Linked DNA regions of Homo sapiens: all the other regions are linked to region 2. The links are contacts of gene promoters, found by promoter capture Hi-C in blood cells and fetal thymus (Javierre and others, 2016). All regions are on one chromosome and are shown on one strand. The core of a region is centred on a gene start or on the middle of the fragment in contact, and the rest is flanking DNA. Distances in the headings are between cores, read along the strand shown. Region 1 holds the start of RB1CC1 (RB1 inducible coiled-coil 1). Region 2 holds the start of UBE2V2 (ubiquitin conjugating enzyme E2 V2). Region 3 overlaps PCMTD1 (protein-L-isoaspartate (D-aspartate) O-methyltransferase domain containing 1).

Region 1 (2,700 bases), core at 201-2,700, 4.7 Mb after region 2:
TACCAAGGAAGCTGTGAAATCCGCGTGCACACCCATCCCAAATCTATCCGTGGGGCGGGCGCAGGCTGAGTCATTCCTAGGAGTAACTTTATACCGATCCTCGCACTCTGGGGTCGGGACAAAGACATCATCTCTCCGTTCCTCCCATTCGGTGAGCTTCGTTCGGCCTCGGCCAAACTCCACTCTCCCGTTTCTCGAGTCCAACACAGAATTAAGGGCTGATCCCTGGCAGCGATGAGCACAAGTCAAGATGCGTCTTGGGAGGTTCGGACGTCCCTCGCCCTCGGCCACTCCGGCAACTAGGCCGGGTACTAAGCGGCAGCGCAGAGGGAGGGATCCCAAGGCTCCGGCCGAGGAAGCCGCAGGCAGCCCCGCAGCACGAGTCCGACCCACACCTCCGGCAGCCTAGTGGAGCATCGACTCGAACCGCTTTTGTCTCCACAGGGGCTGTCGCGCCGGGAAAGCGGCCAGTGGGCAACACCTGCCGGGGCGGGAGGCGCCGGGGCCCTCCCGTGCACACACCTGCGCGTGGGCCGGGCTCAGGCCGACCGGAACCCTGGACCATGCGACCCCGGCCCACCGTGCCAGGGCCCGCCGCGCGACCGCTGTGCCAGATGGGGGAAGGGGACGCGGGCGGCGGCGACACTTACCCGGCAACGCCTCCTCCTTCGCCGGCGGCAGCAGCAGAGCCAGCGACCCCCGGCACCATCTTCCGCCGCCGCCTAGTCCTCGGCAGCGGTTACCAACCGCCCATTCGGCACCGCTAAGCCGACACAACCGCCGGCGTCCCGGGCGCCCGCCCGCCGCGGCCCCGAACTCTAGGAGGCAGGGAGGGGTCCGGGCGGACAAGGACGCGAGCAGGCCCCTCGGCTCTGGGTCTGGGGCCGGGGGACAGAAGGCCGCGGCCTGTCAGAGCCGAGGGGCCCAGGCGACTGGGGGATTCTGAGGCAACGCCGAGGGCTCGGCAGGGCCGCGGACACCGCCGCGGCTTGGTTTGTTATTGTCGACTCCGTCTCTTCCTCCGCGGCGCATGCCGGGAAACGGCCTGCCGGGGGAGGGGCGCGCCTGGAGGCGCAGAGAGGCGTCTACGCAGGTCCGGAAGTCGGCAGCCTGCCGGGAAGGGGGCGGCCCCGCCTCCGGCTCTCCGGCCGGCAGGTTGGCTGTCCTGGCCTGACCCTGGGAGACTCCGCTGGGGCCGCCTGTTATGGTGCTAGCTGCCGTCCCGGTGCGTACTTTCCCAAGGTGAATTTGACCTTCTTTGCGACAGCTAGGCCCTGACTAAGGTCGACCCACCAAACACTGGATCGTCCCCAGGCGAAAGAGAGCTTGTTCCCCTCAGCCTGTCGCGGAGGAGCGGAGCCAATCGAGGGTCTGGTGTCCCCGTCGCCTCTCCAGGGGCAACCTGCGGACTAGGCCAAGGTCTGTAACAGGATAACGTACCAGCGCCTGGCCCAGGCGTTCCTGCCGCCACCTCCCCGCATATCCGGACCGCCGGGACTGCACGCAGCTGGCAAGCGTCCCCCTGTTAACTCTGCAAGGGTGGGGCGGCACCATTTCTCAGACCAGGTAAGGCAAGAAAACATGCAAGAGAGAAGAGAGGGAAGCCTAGGCCAATCGGAATGAAAATGTAAACGCCACAACCACGTTTTCAGCTTTACAAATACTGAATCTTGTAGTGGGTCTAGTGGGTTAGGGGTTAGCATGAGCACCCTAATGGTTGGGAGACAGTTTCAGGGGACTCTTGCATTTGTGAAGATGATCAGTCACAGGCAATGACTTGAAGCCACGAGGCTTGAATATTAAAATCTGATGAGCAGATGTTACACGTAGAATAATTACATAATAGTTCTCAAATTCCTGTTATATCCAGGAATATCTGGTATGAGTGAAAACTTGGAGGTGCCTTCTCTAAAGTCATCAGGAATTCTGAGTTGTGTTTGTAAAAATAGGAGGCACAAGAGGGCACCAAACTGAACAAAATGTTAGGTGGAAACTGAAAAACGTTGGTTAGCATGAACAATTTCAGTTTTCAGTCACACTGACCAGTATCTGTAAGTTAGGATTGAGATGGGCTTGTTTTATTTATTTACTTTTAAATTTGTGCTGCTACATATCCCAAACAAATGTGGTCTTTATCATCACTGGCAAGCCATTTTACTTATTGGTTAAGCTGGAATTTTATTACACCACCCCAGCAAGATAGAGGAGAAAAGCGAAAATTAAGTAGTAAATGGTTATTATGCCTTAAGGGAAGGTGTGAACTGGCAAGACAAAAGAGCCAAATTTAGTAGTAAAGCATAGTCATCAGCACACAGAAAATAAGTGGTGAGGAGGAGTTTGGCCAGAAAATTGGCTAAGAAAAATGGCAGTATGACCAAGAATGAAAAGAAAAAGAAAGAAAAGAAAAACTGCAGTATGAGGCCTGTAAAGAACGTATTGGTACTTGCACTTCCTCTTATTAGTGACATTCATTATTACAAATATAACCCAATTTAGAATGTAAAAATCTTGCTGGAGCTCGGTGCAGTGGCTCACACCTGGAATCCCAGCACTTATGGGAGGCCGAGGCAGGAGGATTGCTTGAGCCCAGGAGTTGGAGACCAGCCTGGGCAACGTAGTGAAACCCCTTCTCTACAAAAAATACAAAAATTAGCTGGGCGTGGTGATGCACACCTGTGGTCCCAGTTACTCAGAAGGCTG
Region 2 (2,700 bases), core at 131-2,630:
TTTGTATTTTTTTTTTTTTAGTAGAGACAGGGTTTCACTGTGTTAGCCAAGATGGTCTTGATCTTCTGACCTCGTGATCCGCCCGCCTCCGCCTCCCAAAGTGCTGGGATCCATGCCCGGCCAAAAGCATTCCCTTTGAAAGCCGGCACAAGACAAAGATGCCCTCTCTCACCACTCCTATTCAACATAGTATTGGAAGTTCTGGCCAGGGCAATCAGGCAAGAGAAAGAAATAAAGGGTATTCAATTAGGAAAAGAGGAAGTCAAATTGTCTCTGTTTGCAGATGACATGATTGTATATTTAGAAAACCCCATAGTCTCAGCCCCAAATCTTCTTAAGCTGACAAGCAACTTCAGCAAAGTCTCAGGATACAAAATCAATGTGCAAAAATCACAAGCATTCCTATACACTAATAACAGACAAACAGAGAGCCAAATCATGAGTGAACTCCCATTCACAATTGCTACAAAGAGAATAAAAATACCTAGGAATACAACCTACAAGGGATGTGAAAAATCTTTTTTTTTTTTTTTTTTCAGTTTTATGTAGAGACTAGGTATCACTATGTTGTCCAAGCTGGTCTCAAAGTCTTGGGTTCAAGCCATCCTCCTGCCTCAGCCTCCCAAAGTGTTAGGATTACAGAAGTGAGCTTCGGCGCCCAGCCTGTATTACTTTCCTTTTTCTTTCTTTCTTTTTTTTTTTTGAAATGGAGTCTCCCTCTGTTGCCCAGGCTGGAGTGCAGCGATTTCTGCTCACTGCAGCCTCACCTCTTGGGCTCACGTGACCCTCCCACCTCAGCATCCCTAGCTGTTCAAATTTATTGTCCAACTCTTTTGAATCGTTTATCAACGCAAATCTGTCAATGCCCACTTATTTTTATTTATTTTTTTGAGGCGGAGTCTCGCTCTGTTGTCCAGGCTGGAGTGCAGTGGCGCAATCGCGGCTCATTGCCCCTCCGCCTCCCCGGTTCAAACGATTCTCGTGCCTCAGCCTCCCAAATAGCTGGGATTACAGGCGCGCGCCACCACGTCCGGCTAATTTTTGTATTTTTAGTAGAGACGGGGTTTCGCCATGTTGGCCAGGCTGGTTTCGAACTCCTGACCTCGGGTGATCCGATCGCCTCGGCCTCCCAAAGTGCTGGGATTACAGACGTGAGCCACCGCGCCCGGCCCTCATGAACTTATTCTTTAGCGTTTCATTTTGAGAGCGGGATTCACAAGGGAATTGCGGAAACAGCAGCGAGGCCCCGCGACCCCTCGGCCCACGTGCGCGCTGTCCCTCGGGTCGCCCCGCGCCCGCCGGGGGCGGAGTCCGCTGTGACGCGTGCAGGGCGGCGCGCTCCCGGAAGTGACGCGCGACGGTTCGTGCGTGCGTGCGGGCGGCTGCGTCGGGCTGCAGGAGAAGATGGCGGTCTCCACAGGTCGGTTCCCGGGCCGGGCTGCGTGATTTTCCGCTCCGACCCGGCTCTGCCCCTCCGTCTGCTGCTGGCGCCCGAGCGCTGACCGTGCGGGAGAAGCCCGAGTGCGCTGTCTCGAATGCCGCGCTCTCCGCAGAGCGTAGCCTGGGACCGGGTGGGACCGGCGCCGAGGCCCCGGCGGCCGTCGGGTTGGCGGGTCGTGCTCGCGCGTCGGCCGCGCGCCGGCGGGCTGGGGGCGGGGTGGCTCCCGCGCGGGCGCCCCCGTAGGTTCCGGCGGGCGCGGGTCCGAGTTGTAGGCTGAAGGCTCTACGGGAGGGAGGCGAGGAGGCCCAAGGTGGGCGGGTGTCAACCTCCGGCACCGAAGATGGGTCAGGCCAACCGGCACCGAAGATGGGTCAGGCCAAGAGGTGTCCTGGATCAGAGTAGGGGTCCCATTCCTTTGGACTCTCCTTGACATGGGTTGGGGAGTAGAGGACGATTGCTCCTTAAAATAAGAGCGAGAGGATCTTTCTTACCTGACTGAATACGTGTGATCTTTTTATTATTTATGAGGAAAACTGCAGTGCAAACAAAATAAAAGACCAGAGCAAGATGAAAGCTAATTGAAGAACAAGTGGTTTCTTAGATAAGCTGTTCAACTCCTCTTTCCTACTGAATACAATGTTTGGTTTCCTGTGAGCACACAAGTATTAACGTTGAGGTTTTAGACATTAGACCATTTCAGAAATGTTAAAAACGTTAAGCTTTAGTTTACATTTAAAAATGTTAACCCGTGTGATCTGCCTTTTTCTTTTCTTTTCTTTTTTTTTTTTTTTTTGAGTCAGAGGCTCACCCTGTTGCCCAGTTGGAATGCAGTGGTGTGATCTCGGCTCACTGCAACCTCCACCTCCCAGGTTCAAGTGATTCTCCTGCCTCAGCCTCCCAAGTAGCTGGGATTACAGGCGCGTGCCACCAGGCCCGGCTAATTTTTGTATTTTTAGTAGAGACGGGGTTTTGTCATGTTGGCCAGACTGGTCTCGAACTCCTGACCTCAGGTGATCCGCCCACTTCGGCCTCCCAGAGTGCTGGAATTACAGGTGTGAGCCACCGCGCTCGGCCTGATCTGCCTTTTCCTAGTCTTCGTTGAAACAAGAGTATAGAGCAGTGTGATTTAATAGTTTATGCCATCATTGCATAATAAAATGAATTTTCAAATCTATATGTACTGAAATGGAAGGCTTTGAATATATGTTGTAATTGTTGCTTTAGAGTAATACCTCAGGATACATTCTGCATACATTTTA
Region 3 (2,700 bases), core at 1-2,500, 3.9 Mb after region 2:
AAAAATTCCAAGAAATGGAAATGCATAAGAAATCAAAAAAGTAAAGTAAAACTGAAGTTTACATTCTTTTTGGAACAGCTGCTGGGACAGAAAGAATGTAACTTAATATTTTAAACTAAAACAAGAAATAAGTTTTGAAAGGGGCACTGAAGTCAAATAATGCAGTTTTGAAAGGCAACACTGAGGAACTCGGGCTTTCTTCCAGAGTGGATCAGGAGCCACTCAGCAGAGGCACAGTGGTCAAGAACACAGACTTGGAAGAAGACATGGTTGGGATTCAAATCCCAGAGCTCTTCTACCTACTAACAACTCCTTCAAGATCATGAAGTTCCAATTTCTTCACCTGTAGAATGGGGATAATATAAATTATAATGACCACATGAGAACAAAGGATTCAGCACACTGACTGACATAAACACCCAAGTGGGTTTGTTTTGTTTGCTTGTCATCAGGCAGGGAACATGATCAGGACTACATTTAGGACAATTAATAAGCAGTATTCACAATGAATGACAAACCTAGAGATTAATGTCTCTTGCTGTGTATATGGCTGCTGGAAGAACTGAAGAAAGATAGAAGAAATCAGGAACCACAATGCAGTAAGATGACAAAAAAAAAAAAAATTCTAAGAAAAGGAGAGAGAGAAGAACCAAGGATGACCTTTTGATTTTGAGTCTAGATGACTAAGAAAATGCAAAGGTCATTAATATAAACAAGCAAGAAGAATCAGGCTTGCAAAAAAAGTTTAATTCTGAATCTACTGATTCAAGATTACAAAATGACAGCTACTAAGTTGATCAGGGAGAACAACATTGGCAAATCTGAAGCTTGGGAATGAAAATAAGGCTGATGATACACAAGTGGAAGCCTGAGCAAAGAGGGTGAGGGGAATGAGCAGTTGAAACCACGGATCTGTGTGGGATTGCCAAAGAAGAGAACAAACTCTAAAAAGGAAAAGAACTAAACCTAAGGTAACACCTACAGGCAACATCTATCTATACTTCAGGAAGTGAGAGAGAAAAACAAACAAAGGCCCCAAGAAGGGAGAGTTGGAGATGCCAGTTTGTGAAAGTCACCAAGACAGACCTTCACAGCATTTCACATTCTACAGCTCTTTCAATGCTCATTATAACTTTAGATTATAAACTGAACTGACTTCATCAATTGATAACATGATTATCATTAAAGGTTTTTAAGAGCCTGCAAGTTACTGAAGAGTGCTCAGTAGAAAACACAGAAGAGTGTTTTATGCAAATTAGTTTTTAAACTCCAAGAATATTTTAAGCTCTAGAAATCATACCTGATGCATGTCTTGTATCAAGACATAAAGTTGAGTTATTTCTGGCTACCCGTGCATAATGTTCCAAAAAGGATTTTCAGGTTAAACTGGAAAATATGCTATGTCTTCCCATCAGCAATACCTCTCATTAATTTTTGAGAATACACATACACATAGTGTTTGATTCACAATCCTTCCCCACTTCAACAGCTGAAAAAATCTTACCATATTCTAAAAACGTCTTTAGGGGGCTGAAATATTTCTGTGTCACCTAATTATAAAACCCACTCACATCCAACATCCAATGTTACGTTGACCGAGAGATAATCAATGGCAGATACGCCATTTAGGTATGAATCCAATTATCATCCTTAACAATTGCCAGTAAAATGTCAAAGCTTTTCCTGTATTTTTGGTTTCTTCTCAAATACAGATTACAACTGACCATACTTTATTAATGTTAGTATTTGTCCCATTTCTTTTTTTTTTTTTTTTTTTTTTTTTGAGACAGAGTCTCACTCTTTTGACCAGGCTGGAGTGAAGTGGAGCGATCTTGGCTCACTGCAACCTCTGACTCGCAGGTTCAAGCGACTCTCCTGCCTCAGCCTCCCGAGTAGCTGGGATTACAGATGCCCACCACCAAGCTCGGCTAATTTTTGTATTTTTAGTAGAGACGGGGTTTTGCCATGTTGGCCAGGCTGGACTCGAACTCCTGACCTCAGGCGATCCACCTGCCTCAGCCTCCCAAAGTGCTAGGATTACAGGCGTGAGCCACTGCCCCCGGCCGCCACATTTCTTCCAACTATGTAGTTGCCACATCTAGTGGAAAATGAAAAAAGATTAATAAACCATATTATGACACCCTATTGTCTGTCATTATGCATTTTAAGTGACTACCAAATATTTTAAAATACCAATAATTACATAAGTAAATTTTAATCCTTTTAGACTTTTTTAGGGCCCTCTTGGTATTCTTTCCAGCACACTAATTTACAAAAAAGTTCAACTACGTTCATAAAAATGTTTACTGATATGAGACTATCCTTCCGAGTTTGTAAGCAATACGCAGCTGTGAGAGCTACAATTTACAATAACATCCCAATTTACCATGGCACCCAGCAGTGTCTAAAGTAACACAAATCCCCATCTTCTTGGTTAACAGCATAAGATCAAGGAGTTTAAAATTTTAGTAATATGCCACCAGAAACCTCATCTAAAAAAATACCATTATAGTTTCACACTATATTCTCTAGACTATTTTAAATGCATGTGATTACATTCATGTAGTTATTCTGTAAGGAACATTTCAAAGAAAGCAGAAAAAACCGTAAGGGCAACAATTTTTCGTTCATAGGAGGTAAAACAAGAGCAGAAAACACAGGTTCTTGGATTAAGCACTCCTGAATATAAACACGCACTAT

Evidence for each region. The method cuts DNA at HindIII sites, captures the fragments that hold promoters and counts their contacts. A CHiCAGO score of 5 or more calls a contact.
Region 1: a fragment that was not itself captured here is called in contact with the fragment with the promoter of UBE2V2 in region 2 in 2 of 17 cell types (total B cells and naive CD8 T cells); the score reaches 11.0 in total B cells.
Region 3: a contact is called between a fragment that was not itself captured here and the fragment with the promoter of UBE2V2 in region 2, in 1 of 17 cell types (naive CD8 T cells). The highest score is 6.9, in naive CD8 T cells.

The regions. Positions count from the first base shown.
Region 1 is chr8:52,713,425-52,716,124 of GRCh38, forward strand. It overlaps RB1CC1 (RB1 inducible coiled-coil 1), which reads right to left and starts at 1,011. Exons shown (of 24, transcript NM_014781.5): 1 at 651-1,011. RefSeq lists silencers at 466-935, 966-1,135 and enhancers at 1,196-1,505, 1,526-1,575. The HindIII fragment of the contact is 3,580 bases long and covers 1-2,700 here.
Region 2 is chr8:48,007,051-48,009,750 of GRCh38, forward strand. UBE2V2 (ubiquitin conjugating enzyme E2 V2) reads left to right here and starts at 1,381. Exons shown (of 4, transcript NM_003350.3): 1 at 1,381-1,420. The coding sequence starts at 1,405. RefSeq lists silencers at 1,087-1,346, 1,577-1,776. The HindIII fragment of the contact is 2,629 bases long and covers 1-2,158 here.
Region 3 is chr8:51,894,181-51,896,880 of GRCh38, forward strand. The region is part of intron 1 of PCMTD1 (protein-L-isoaspartate (D-aspartate) O-methyltransferase domain containing 1); the gene reads right to left. Among named protein-coding and RNA genes, the nearest start is that of PCMTD1, 3.5 kb to the right of the region's middle. The HindIII fragment of the contact is 850 bases long and covers 826-1,675 here.